Regions from separate parts of the Homo sapiens genome. Here all the other regions are linked to region 3. The links are contacts of gene promoters, found by promoter capture Hi-C in blood cells and fetal thymus (Javierre and others, 2016). All regions are on one chromosome and are shown on one strand. The core of a region is centred on a gene start or on the middle of the fragment in contact, and the rest is flanking DNA. Distances in the headings are between cores, read along the strand shown. Region 1 has its middle 8.9 kb from the start of H2AC25. Region 2 holds the start of H3-4 (H3.4 histone, cluster member). Region 3 holds the start of OBSCN-AS1 (OBSCN antisense RNA 1). Region 4 has its middle 5.3 kb from the start of MIR4666A.

The links. Contacts are between HindIII fragments. The CHiCAGO score rates a contact against its expected background, and 5 or more counts as called.
Region 1: a contact is called between a fragment that was not itself captured here and the fragment with the promoter of OBSCN-AS1 in region 3, in 4 of 17 cell types (naive CD8 T cells, non-activated CD4 T cells, M0 macrophages and 1 more). The highest score is 7.1, in naive CD8 T cells.
Region 2: a contact is called between a fragment that was not itself captured here and the fragment with the promoter of OBSCN-AS1 in region 3, in 2 of 17 cell types (non-activated CD4 T cells and endothelial precursors). The highest score is 6.0, in non-activated CD4 T cells.
Region 4: a contact is called between a fragment that was not itself captured here and the fragment with the promoter of OBSCN-AS1 in region 3, in 13 of 17 cell types (naive CD4 T cells, non-activated CD4 T cells, total CD4 T cells and 10 more). The highest score is 9.7, in naive CD4 T cells.

Annotation. Positions count from the first base shown.
Region 1 is chr1:228,447,580-228,450,369 of GRCh38, reverse strand. It overlaps the pseudogene RPL23AP15. Among named protein-coding and RNA genes, the nearest start is that of H2AC25, 8.9 kb to the left of the region's middle. The HindIII fragment of the contact is 1,108 bases long and covers 959-2,066 here.
Region 2 is chr1:228,424,485-228,427,419 of GRCh38, reverse strand. It overlaps H3-4 (H3.4 histone, cluster member), which reads left to right and starts at 2,060. Exons shown (of 1, transcript NM_003493.3): 1 at 2,060-2,575. The coding sequence starts at 2,095. The coding sequence ends at 2,505. The HindIII fragment of the contact is 1,058 bases long and covers 774-1,831 here.
Region 3 is chr1:228,212,369-228,215,174 of GRCh38, reverse strand. OBSCN-AS1 (OBSCN antisense RNA 1) reads left to right here and starts at 1,520. Exons shown (of 2, transcript NR_073155.1): 1 at 1,520-1,753. OBSCN (obscurin, cytoskeletal calmodulin and titin-interacting RhoGEF) reads right to left here. Exons shown (of 116, transcript NM_001386125.1): 2 at 2,404-2,806; 3 at 1,465-1,734; 4 at 741-1,001; 5 at 77-385. RefSeq lists a silencer at 1,384-1,433. The HindIII fragment of the contact is 3,550 bases long and covers 245-2,806 here.
Region 4 is chr1:228,465,988-228,468,712 of GRCh38, reverse strand. No RefSeq gene overlaps it. Among named protein-coding and RNA genes, the nearest start is that of MIR4666A, 5.3 kb to the right of the region's middle. The HindIII fragment of the contact is 2,790 bases long and covers 3-2,725 here.

The DNA of each region.
Region 1 (2,790 bases), core at 263-2,762, 240 kb before region 3:
CCGCCACAAGCCGAGCTCTGGGAAGGCAGGAGAAACCCCGCCTGGCTGCATTCTCAAGGACACCTGCACAGTGGATCACTACAACCAGTGGGACCGTCCCTGAAGGTGTGCGGGGCAGCATGCTTGTGCATGATAGACTTGCCATCATCACATTTTTTTTTTCGAGACAGCGTCTCAATTTGTTGCCGAGACTGGAGTGCAGTGCAGTGGCAACAATCACAGCTCACTGCTGTCTCAACCTCAAGCAATCCTCCCACCTCAGCCTCCTGAGTAGCTGGGACTACAGGCAGGCTCCCCAAACCTGGGTAGTTTTTTGTATTTTGTAGAGACAGTGGTTTCACCATATTGCCCAGGCTGGTCTCCAACACCTGTGCTCATGCATTCCTCCCGCCTTGGCCTCCCAATTACAGGCATGAGCCATTGTGCCTGGCCCTATCATCACAGTTATAAAACTATCACATTTCCAGCCCCAGGAGCTTTACCCACACAGTCTCAAAGCCCTTGCTTCTTGGAAAACCCCCAGAGGCCTCACAGGGCCCTACAAAGAAAAGCCCCACGCTCTTTGTTGTTGAGAATGCTTTACTGGTCCCTTTTTATTTTTTCCCAGCTTTATTGAGGTACTGTTACCGGAAAGGGGTCTCGATCCAGACCCCAAGAGAGGGTTCTTGGATCTCATACAAGAAAGAATTCAGGGCAAATCCATAAAGTGAAAGCAAGTTTATTAAGAAAGTAAAGGAGCTTTTCACAAGATGGCACTGAAAGCGAAGAAGGAAACTCCTGCCCTTCCTAAAGCCGAAGCCAAAGCAAAGGCTTTGAAGGCCAAGAAGGCAGTGTTGAAAGGTGTCCATAGCCACACACAAAAAAAGAAGATCCGCATGTCACCCACCTTCTGGTGGCCCAAGACACTGTGACTCCGGAGGCAGCCCAAATATCCTGGGCAAATTGTCCCCAACAAGCTTGACCACTGTGCTATCATCAAGTTTCCACTAACCACTGAGTCTGCCATGAAGAAGATAGAAGACAGCAACACACTTGTGATCACTGTGGATGTTAAAGCCAAGAAGCACCAGATCAAACAGGCTGTGAAGAAGCTCTGTGACATTAATGTGGCCAAGGTCAACACCCTGATCAGCCTGATGGAGAGCATATGTTCAACTGGCTCCTGATTACAGTGCTTTGGATGTTACCAACAAAATTGGGATCATCTAAACTGAGTCCAGCTGGCTAATTCTAAATATATGCATATATTTTCACCATTAAAAAAAAAAGGAAGAAAGTGAAGGGATAAAAGAATGGCTACTCCATAGGCAGAGCAGCTCTGAGGGCTACTGGTTGGCCACTTTTATGGTCATTTCTTGATTATATGCTAAACAAGGGGTGAATTATTCATGCGTTTCCCAGGAAAGGGGTGAGCAATTCTTGGACCTGAGGGTTCCTTCCCTTTATAGACCATATAGGGTAACTTCCTGATGTTTCCATGGCATTTGTAAATTGTCATGATGCTGTTGGGAGTATCTTTTACTTATAATTAATGATAATTAATGTATTATAATGAGCAGTGAGGACGACCAGAGGTCACATTAGTCGCCATCTTGGTTTTGGTGGGATTTGGCTGCCTTCTTTACCGCGTGCTGTTTCATTAGCAAGGTCTTTGTGACCTATATCTTGTGCCGACCTCCTATCTCATCCTGTAACTTAGAATGCCTAACCTCCTGGGAATGCAGTCCAGCAGGTCTCAGCCTTATTTTACCCAGCCCCTATTCAAGATGGAGTTGCTCTAACTCAAATGCCTCTGACAGTATGATCTACAAATAAAGCTCGTACATATTCAAGGTGCACAGCATGATGTCTTGGTACATGTCACGTGGTGAAATGATTACCACAGTCAAATCAATTAACACACACATCACCTCATGTGGTTACCTGTGTGTGTGTGCATGTGTCTGTGTGTGCGGTGACAACATGTAAGATCTACTCAGTAAATTTTATGTCCATGATATGTTATTAACCAGAGTCTCCATGCTGTGCTTCAGGTCTCCAGAACTACTTATCTTATAGCTGAAGCTTTGTACTCCTCCTCACCCAGCCCCTGACTTTTTTAGATTCCATATATAAGTTGGCTCATGCAGTATTATTTGTCTTTCTGTGCCTGGCTTATTTCACTTAGCATAATGTCCTCTGGGTTCATCCATGTTGTTGACATGGTTTCCTTCTTTTTTAGACCTGAATAATTTTCATTATTATAGTGTAGTATAGCATGTAACACTAATATCTATACCACGTTTTCTTTATTCATTCACTGATGGACATTTAGGTTGTTTCTGTATCTCAGCTATTATGAATAGTGCTGTAATTAACATGGGAGTGCAAGTATCTCTTTATGACAGTGATTTTATTTCCATTGGGCATACTCAGAAGTGAGATGGCTGGATCAACAAAATTAAAAGGCAACCTATGGATGGGTGAAAACATTTGCAAACCAAACATCTGGTAAGGGGTTAATACCCAAAATATATAAGAGCTCCTACAACTTATTAGCAAAAAACAAAACCAAAACAAGAACCAAATAACCTAACTTTAAAAATAGACAAAGGACCTAAATAGGCATTTCTCCCAAGAAGGCATACATATGGCCAACAGGCATATGAATAGGTGTTCAACATTACTAATCTAGGAGGGTCGGTAGGGTGGCTCATGCCTCTAATCCCAGAGCCTAAGGTGGGAGGATTGCTAGAGCCCAGGCTTTGGAGACCAGCCTGGGCAACATAGGAAGACTCCGTCTGTACAAAA
Region 2 (2,935 bases), core at 53-2,552, 210 kb before region 3:
AGACTCAGGTCAAAAAATTAAAAAAAAAAAAGCATAGTGGCCGGGCACGGTGTAATCCTAGCACTTTGGGAGGCCAAGGTCGGGGGATCAGTTGAACTCAGGAATTCAAGACCAGCTTGGGCAACATAATGACAGCCCATCTCTACAAAAAAATTAAAAATTTAAAAATTAGCTGGATGTGGTCCCAGCTACTTGGGAGGCTGAGGTAAGAGGGGCCTGGGCAACAGAGCAAGATGAAAAAAGGAGGGAAAGGAGGGGAGGGGAAGGGAGAAGAAAAAAAGGAAGGGAGGGAGGGAGTGAGGAAGGGAGGGAAGGAGAAAGGAAGGGAGGGAAGGAGAAAGGAAGGGAGGGAAGGAGAAAGGAAGGGAGGGAAGGAGAAAGGAAGGGAGGGAGTGAGGAAGGGAGGGAAGGAGAAAGGAAGGGAGGGAGGGAGAAAGGAAGGAAGCAAGCATAGGGCCCACCTCTGCTTCTGGTGAGGGCCTCTGGCTGCTTCTGCTCATGGTGGAAGGTGAAGGGGAACCCATGTATGTGCAGAGGTCACAGGGCTGCCGCGAGAGAGGACGCCAGAGAGAGAGGGGAGAGGGGTGCCAGGCTCTTTTCAACACCAGCTCTTCAGGGAACCAACAGAGTGAAAACTCACCCTAAAGGAGGGCAGGACTCTATTCAGAGGGTGACACCCCAGGACCCACACACCTCCCACTGGCCCCCCCCTCCCTGGGCTCCAACTTTAGGGATCAAATTTCAACTTGAGAGTTGGAGGAGATTTGGAAGCTTCCACCTCCCGTCCTTGATGATAAGAACGTTCCCTTGCTTTTACTATAAGGAGAACATCTTTCATATGGGAATTTCATCTCTTGTATTTAAGAAACAACAAGAAATTCAGAATGATCTTCCTACACCTGCTTCTTCTTTTTTTTTTTTAAGTGCCTTTATCTCAAAATAGACAATATGCCAGAAAGGCACATCTTTACCTTCTTCAGAATCCTAAGGCTCATCTAAGCCGTACAGGTAAGGGAGTTCTTTGCAGGTCATAAAAAGTGGGAGATTCCTTTAACTCTGGCTGCATCCCAGAGCTTTGTCACTGTGTAAAAGTGGAATGCCGGCCGGGCACGCTGGCTCACGCCTGTAATCCCAACACTTTGGGAGGCCGAGGCGGGCGGATCACGAGGTCAGGAGATCGAGACCATCCTGGCTAACATGGTGAAACCCCGTCTCTACTAAAAATACAAAACAAAATTAGCCAGGCATGATGGCGGGCACCTGTAGTCCCAGCTACTCTGTAGGCTGAGGCAGGAGAATGGCGTGAACCCGGGAGGCGGAGCTTGCAGTGAGCTGGGATTGCGCCACTGCACTCCAGCCTGGGCGACAGAGAGAGACTCCGTCTCAAAAAAAAAAAAAAAAAAGTGAAATGCCAGCTGGGCCTGGTGGCTCATGCCTGTAATCCCAGCACTTTGGGAGGCCGAGGCGGGTGGATCACCTGAGGTCAGGAGTTCGAGACCAGCCTGGCCAATATGGTGAAACCCCATCTCTATTAAAAACACAAAAAATTAGCCAGGCATGGTGGCGGACACCTGTAATCCCTGTAATTCCAGTTACTCGGGAGGCTGAGGCAGGAGAATCGCTTGAACCTGGGAGGTGGAGGTTGCAGTAAGCAGAGATCACGCTATTGCACTCCAGCCTGGGCAACAAGAGTGAAACTCCATCTCAAAAAATAAAAAAATAAATTAATTTTTTAAAAAAGTGGAATGCCATGTGCTGGCTTCTGGAAGGCTCTTGCCACCCAAGTCATGGGGAAGGGAGAAGAGGAGCGCTGAGAAGACATGAGGAAGCTTGTGCTGGAGAGAGATGATCCCCACCACCGCGGCCTACCCGCATCAACCCTTCACAATGCTGGTGCCAGCTCTGGTGGCCACGACCAACAGGCATGAATATAAGGGAGAGGCGCCCGAGTGGAGTTCCCTGTGGGCCAATCAGAGAGCAGTGGGCCATCACGCCACCTGAGGCCAGCCAATGGGAACGCGGCAAGCTCTATAAAAGCGAGCAATCCGCTGAGGTCTGGGCAGAGGACACCGCGGGGCCAACAGTTTCGGATTCATGGCCCGAACCAAGCAGACTGCGCGCAAGTCAACGGGTGGCAAGGCGCCGCGCAAGCAGCTGGCCACCAAGGTGGCTCGCAAGAGCGCACCTGCCACTGGCGGCGTGAAGAAGCCGCACCGCTACCGGCCCGGCACGGTGGCGCTTCGCGAGATCCGCCGCTACCAGAAGTCCACTGAGCTGCTAATCCGCAAGTTGCCCTTCCAGCGGCTGATGCGCGAGATCGCTCAGGACTTTAAGACCGACCTGCGCTTCCAGAGCTCGGCCGTGATGGCGCTGCAGGAGGCGTGCGAGTCTTACCTGGTGGGGCTGTTTGAGGACACCAACCTGTGTGTCATCCATGCCAAACGGGTCACCATCATGCCTAAGGACATCCAGCTGGCACGCCGTATCCGCGGGGAGCGGGCCTAGGAGGGCTATCTCGCCACCTGAGAGGTTGCGCAACGTTCACCCCAAAGGCTCTTTTAAGAGCCACCCACCTGGTCGAAGAGTTGCTGTAGCAAGCTAGTCTCTTGGGTTTCGGGGGGTTCCTTCCGCTGGCCTGTGCTGGCTTACCTACTTCTGATTAGGGTGGGAGGCTGGTGAATCCTGTGTTCACCCTGTCCAGTTAGGAGGCCAGCTACTCACACGCGTTACCTCTCAGCCTGTCTCCAGTCACAAATCCAGCTAGTAGTGTGTGGGGCTAACTTGGCCTATCCGTTTAGATAAGAATCATGGTTGGTCTGTTTTGGGGACGGGGTGTTGAGGGTAGCCTAATTGGTCTATCTCCAGTTAGGTAAGCAACCCCAGCTAGTTGTGTCAACTCAGCCTATCTACAGTTAGGTTGGAAGGCTGGCTGGTC
Region 3 (2,806 bases), core at 271-2,770:
TCCCCTGAAGCTGGACCTGGGGGATTCCGGGGCAGGTGAGCAGCCCCGTAGGTTGTAACAGGGAGGTCCCACTTACCCAGGTGGACAGTCCCCGGGAACTCGAGGTAGGGACTCTGACCAAAGCTGTTGAGAGCGGACACTCGGAACTGGAAGTTCCCCTCCTCCGCCACATCAGCCACGGTCAGCTCAGGTGTAGCCACCCATTCAGCCTCGTGGCACCTGATCCAGGTGTAGGTGCCAAGCTTCTTCTTCTCTACCAGGTAGCCGTCGATAGTGACAGGGCGTTCCCCATGGGGTGGTGGGGACCAGCTGAGAATCACGGAACTCTCCATCCTGGCCTTTACCACAGGATCCACAGGGGGTTGCAGGGGAGGCTTCCTGGGGGCTGTGTAGAGGGTGGGCAGAGGTCAACTACTGGGAGCCTCTTCCTGAGCCCTGGGTCTGGAATCACCTGGAGGGGTGTCACAGGATCCCCAGCTCTCTTGGGGCTGCTCTGGGGACCTGGACCACTGGCCACAACCTCCAGCCCCAGACCTGCAGCCACTTCTCTGGTTGCAGCTGAAAGACTGCGCGGGGGCTCAGGGAGCCTAACGTTGGAGGGCCAGGGCTATGGTCTTGCCCGGCGGCCCTCGGTACAGCAGGCTGAAGCCCAGAGAGCTGAGGTAATGGAGGGCAGGGGACTGGGACCAGGGAGACAGCAGGGAAGCGATGCCATCCTGGGAGCACCCTCAGGCCCTCACCCGACACGCAGAACTGGGTGGACGTCTGGCAGTCGCCAGCCATAAAGGCCACCTGGCCCACATCCTCCAGGCAGCACTGGGAGATGGTTAGTGTGTGGCGCGTGCCCTCCGCGGAGATGGCCACGCGGCCCCCCGCCACCACTTCCTCCTGGTTCCGCAGCCAGTGGACGGGGCCCACCGGGACCGCCAGCTCCACGCAAAACATAGCCGTGTCGCCCACGCGCACCGCCGTCTTCCGAGGGAGCTTTCGGAGGAGGTTTCCTGGGGTGGAGGGAGCCGGGCCAGTCAGACCAGCCCCTGCACGCCCCGCTCCAGACTCGCTCCTCCGCTTGCCCCCTGTCTCCCGGTTCCCAACTGCCTCCGATTCACTCCCCCGCGCAACCCCTTACCTGTCCCGCCGGCCCAAGTCCCAGCTCGGTCCCACAAGACCCCTGCCCACTCCGTCTCCCCTTCCCCCTAATCACCACCCCGTGCCCGGCCCGAGCTTGCTCCTCCGCCCCCACCTTACCTGCCCTTCCCGCCCCAGTCCCGCCCCTGCCTGCCCCAGTCCCAACTCGTACCTCGCAAGCCCAGTCCGTCTGCACCCTGCCCGCCCCCGTGCCCGCCCAGCCCGTGCGGCCTGGCTCCCCCCTCCCCCGCCCCCGGCTCCCTTCTCGGTGCCTCCTTGCCCCCGCTACCTCCCCGAAGCCGCCCTGTGCCCCGCCCCGTGCCCCGCCCCGCCTGCCTTGGACTGCGAGCTCCGCCACCGTGCGGCTGCCCTCTGGCGTCTCGCAGATGTACACCGCGTCGTCGTCGGCCGAGACATTGCGCACGGTCAGGCGGCGCTCGGTGCCCTCCTCCTCGATGCCGTACTTGGCGCTCGCCCACAACCGCGTCTCCTCCTTGAACCACGCGGCCTCAGTGGACGGCTGGGGCACCTCACATAGGAACGTGGCCGACTCCTTCTCCCGCACCTCCAGATCTTGCAGCCGCTTTTTGAAGGGAACCGCGGGCTCTGCCAGGAGAGAAGACTGGTGAGAGGGGCGGGGCCGGAGGGTGCAGGACGACGGCGGGGTGGGAAGGGGGAAATTGGGGGATTGTGGGCGGGAAAGGAGACTGGAGGATGCAGAGGTGAGGGTGTGGGAAGGAATAGGGGACAGGAGCAGAGGGGCTGGGAGGCTGGAAAGGAGAGGGTGCAGGGTAGAGGAGTGGGCTGGGGAGAGGAGCGAGCAGGAGGCAGAGGGGCTAAGGGTTGGGAAGGGCGCAGGGGAGGAGACAGGAAGTTGGGGGGCGGGGGAGTAGAAGAGCAGAAGGCAGAGTGGTGGAGGTTGGGTTGGGAGCAGCGGGAGGGAGAGGGCGGGGCTGAGGAGGTGGGATCCCCTGCGGCCCCGCCCCTCTCACACCTCTCGCCCCTGTCTGTGGGCCAGCGGTGGCGGGTTGGGGGCGCGGCATGCAAAGGGGGCGGGGCGGGCAGGGGACTGGGTGGGGAAAGCGGGTTGCGGGTGTTTAGAATAGGTCGTGGGGCGTCGCCCGCATTTTGCGCACCAGGAACGGACACCTGCAACCCTGGATTCCACGACCGGACAGACGCGGGTGGGAAACGGCAGACCGCAAGGGCGAAAGGACCCAGGTGCACGGGTTGCGGAGGAGCCTGGGCCCGCGCGCCCCGCACCCAGGAGCTCACCGCGCACTACGACCAGCACAGAGCTGTAGGTCTGGCCCACGAGGTTGGACGCCGTGCAGGTGTAGAGGCCGCGGTCCGACTGCTTGCAGAAGAGGATCTTGAGCACGAAGTTCTCCTGCGCGTCCTCGTACACCACGTGGCGCCGGCCCTCGGTCACCAGCTGGCCGTCCTTCTTCCACACCGTCTCGGGCTTGGGCTCGCCGGTCACGTAGCAGCTGAGGCGCGCGTGCTTGCCTTCAGTCACCGTGCAGGTGCGCGTGCCGGTGCTGGGCGGTGAGGCGGGGGCGCCCTCGGCGCGCATAGCCTCGCGCCGCCGCTGCAGGTGCGCCAGGAGCGCGGCCGTGGAGGTCCCGGGCCGGCTGGCCGTGTCCGCGGCGTCCGAGTCCACCACTAGCGCCGCGGC
Region 4 (2,725 bases), core at 148-2,647, 250 kb before region 3:
CTTCAAGTTTACTCCATAGTGTCCGTCTGCCAATACATCATGTTGGTCTTGATCCGAGACACTGTCTCAATTGGCTCAGGCTGTTCTAACAAAATGCTACAGAAGGGGAGACTTAAACAACAGAAATTTATCAAAGTCTTTGGGGGAAAAGAGACCTGTGTGGGAAACATAGAAAAACCCTGTCTCTACAAAAAAAAAAAAAATTAGCCAGGCATGGTGGCACGTACCTATAGTCCCAGCTACTTGGGAGGCTGAGATAGGAGGATTGCTTGAACCCAGGAGTTTGAGGCTGCAGTGAGCTATGAATCACACCACTGCACTCTGGCCTGGGCAACAGAGCAAGACCCTGTCTCAAAAAAAAAACACACACACACACACACACACACACAAAAGACATTTAATACAAACTGCACATTACAGTTACATAACACATACATTTTGTGTCGTTATTTTCCCCCAAAGAGTGCTGATTATCCAAGGCTAGTAGTCTGAGATCAGGGTGTCAGCAGGGTTGGGTTTTGTGAGGTCATTCTTACTGGTTTGCACCTAGCCATCTTCTCCCTGTGTCCTCACATGGTGCTAGAAAGCGATATCCTAAAATGAAGACCTCTGAAGCAAAAAACTTTCTCTGATCTCCTGCCTTCCTGTCTCAGTCCCATTCTCCCCCAGACTGGCCATAGAAACTAGAATACCTCTTCCCCAAGGCAGGTCATAAAAACCGCAACCCCTTTTCCCCACAGCCAGACACAAATCCTAAAAATATTACTCTAACTCCTGCCTTTCTGTGCAAATGCTGACCATAAATTCTCTGGGCCACCTTGTCTGGTTGTACGTCATAAGACTCCCATTCCACAGAGGGTCCTGTCTCATACCCAAGAGGAAGGAATGCCACGCAGAGAGGCCAAGAAGAATCTAGACAGACAGGGCTTGCTGGATGTCCCCACTCAGTGTATTAGCAGTAGATCATGCCCAATCCTATTTCTACATAGCAGTCCATATTTTGTTGAACCTAAGCATTAAAATAGACAGCTTCTTCTGTATTCATTCTGAAGGCTTTTTTGTCACACTAAACTATGATCAAATAAATGTGTATGCCTTTTCTCTTTTAATCTGTCTTTTGTCAGCTGATTTTTAGTGAATCTTCAGAGGGCAATAGGAAAGTTTTTCCTTGGGCCCTGCAGCAGAGAGAAAGAGAAAAGCAAGCTGTCTTGTGTCTCTTCTTATAAGGGCATGAATCCTACCATGCCACTCCACCCTCATGACATAATCATCCCCCAAAGGCCCCACCTTCTAACACCATCACCCTGGGGATGGGGGTTTTCAACCTAGAAATTTGGAGGGAACGCAGACATTGAGTCCCTAGCAATCACCACCCATGAGAACCAGGACTGATTTCCTGACACCACCAAGCAGCCACCATATGGTGGGCAGAGCAAATCCTAAATCTTAGTACCTGAAAGACATATTCTTACCCAAAGTCCTTAGAATGCCCACCTCCTGTCCCACTCCAAGTTTTGTTTCAAACCTTTCCACACCAGTAGGAAGCCAGGAAGCCTTAGTAAGAACCTGGTGGGAAGACCAGCATCTCACTGGGCTGGCAGGACCAAGGCAAGCAGTGCTATATATGTACATATATTAACGTTTGTTAAACCATGGTGAGGAAGGCTTCATTCAGGACGGTGGAGTAGGATTAGGACCATTGCAGTGGGATTCTGCAGCAGGGTAGAGAGATTGGGCTCAATTCTGAGTACCGCACTGACAAGTGGAAATTTATAGACAGGAGTAGGGTAGATTAGTGGATAGAACAGTATTAAGAGGAGACATCAGGGCCAAGTACGGTGGCTCATGCCTGTAATCCTAACACTTTGGGAGGCTGAGGAGGGTGGATCACTTGAGGTCAGCAGTTTGAGACCAGCCTGGCCAATATGGCAAAACCCTGTCTCCACTAAAAATACAAAACTTAGCCTAGCATGGTCAGGCATGCCTGTAATCCCAGCTACTCAGGAGGCTGAGGCAGGAAAATCATTTGAACCCGGGAGGTGGACGTTGCAGTGAACTGAGATTGTGCTACTGGGCAACAGAGCAAGATTCCATCTCAAAAAGAAGAAGAAGAAGAAGAAGAAGAAGAAGAAGAAGAAGAAGAAGAAGAAGAAGAAGAAGAAGAAGAAGAAGAAGAAGAAGAAGAAGACATCAGGTGTGAGGGGGATTCTGGGTAAACGAACCTCACATGGCTCTTGCTGGAGGCAGGCAGGGTGATCAGATATCACCTGGGGATGGAGGATGAGGAACCCCATCAGATAGCACAGAGGGCGATCAGATATTCAGAATCAGGGGTTCTAGTTAAACTGACTTAGCGGGGCTCTTCCTAAAACTGGATTTCACAAGAAAGTGCACAGATGGACCCAGGAGGAGGTTCTGGAGCCTGACCAGAGTTTGGCCAAGCAGAGAATCTTTGTCAAAGGGCTGTTTGAGAACTAAATTGAATCAAGTATTTATTAAGTGGTTACCTAGCCAGCTCTTAGTGAGCACTCTAGAAATGCTTGGTAAATCAACCACATATTTCAAAAGGAAGCAGATAAAGTGCTTAATGCTGGGTATGCCCAAAGCCATTCAGGGAACCCACAGTCTCAAGATGCCCAGAAGACCTCAGAGGACAGACTTGAATGTAGAGGGTACTGCCTCAGCTCACAGGCTTATTCACAAGCAGATACTGACTGGGCCCCTG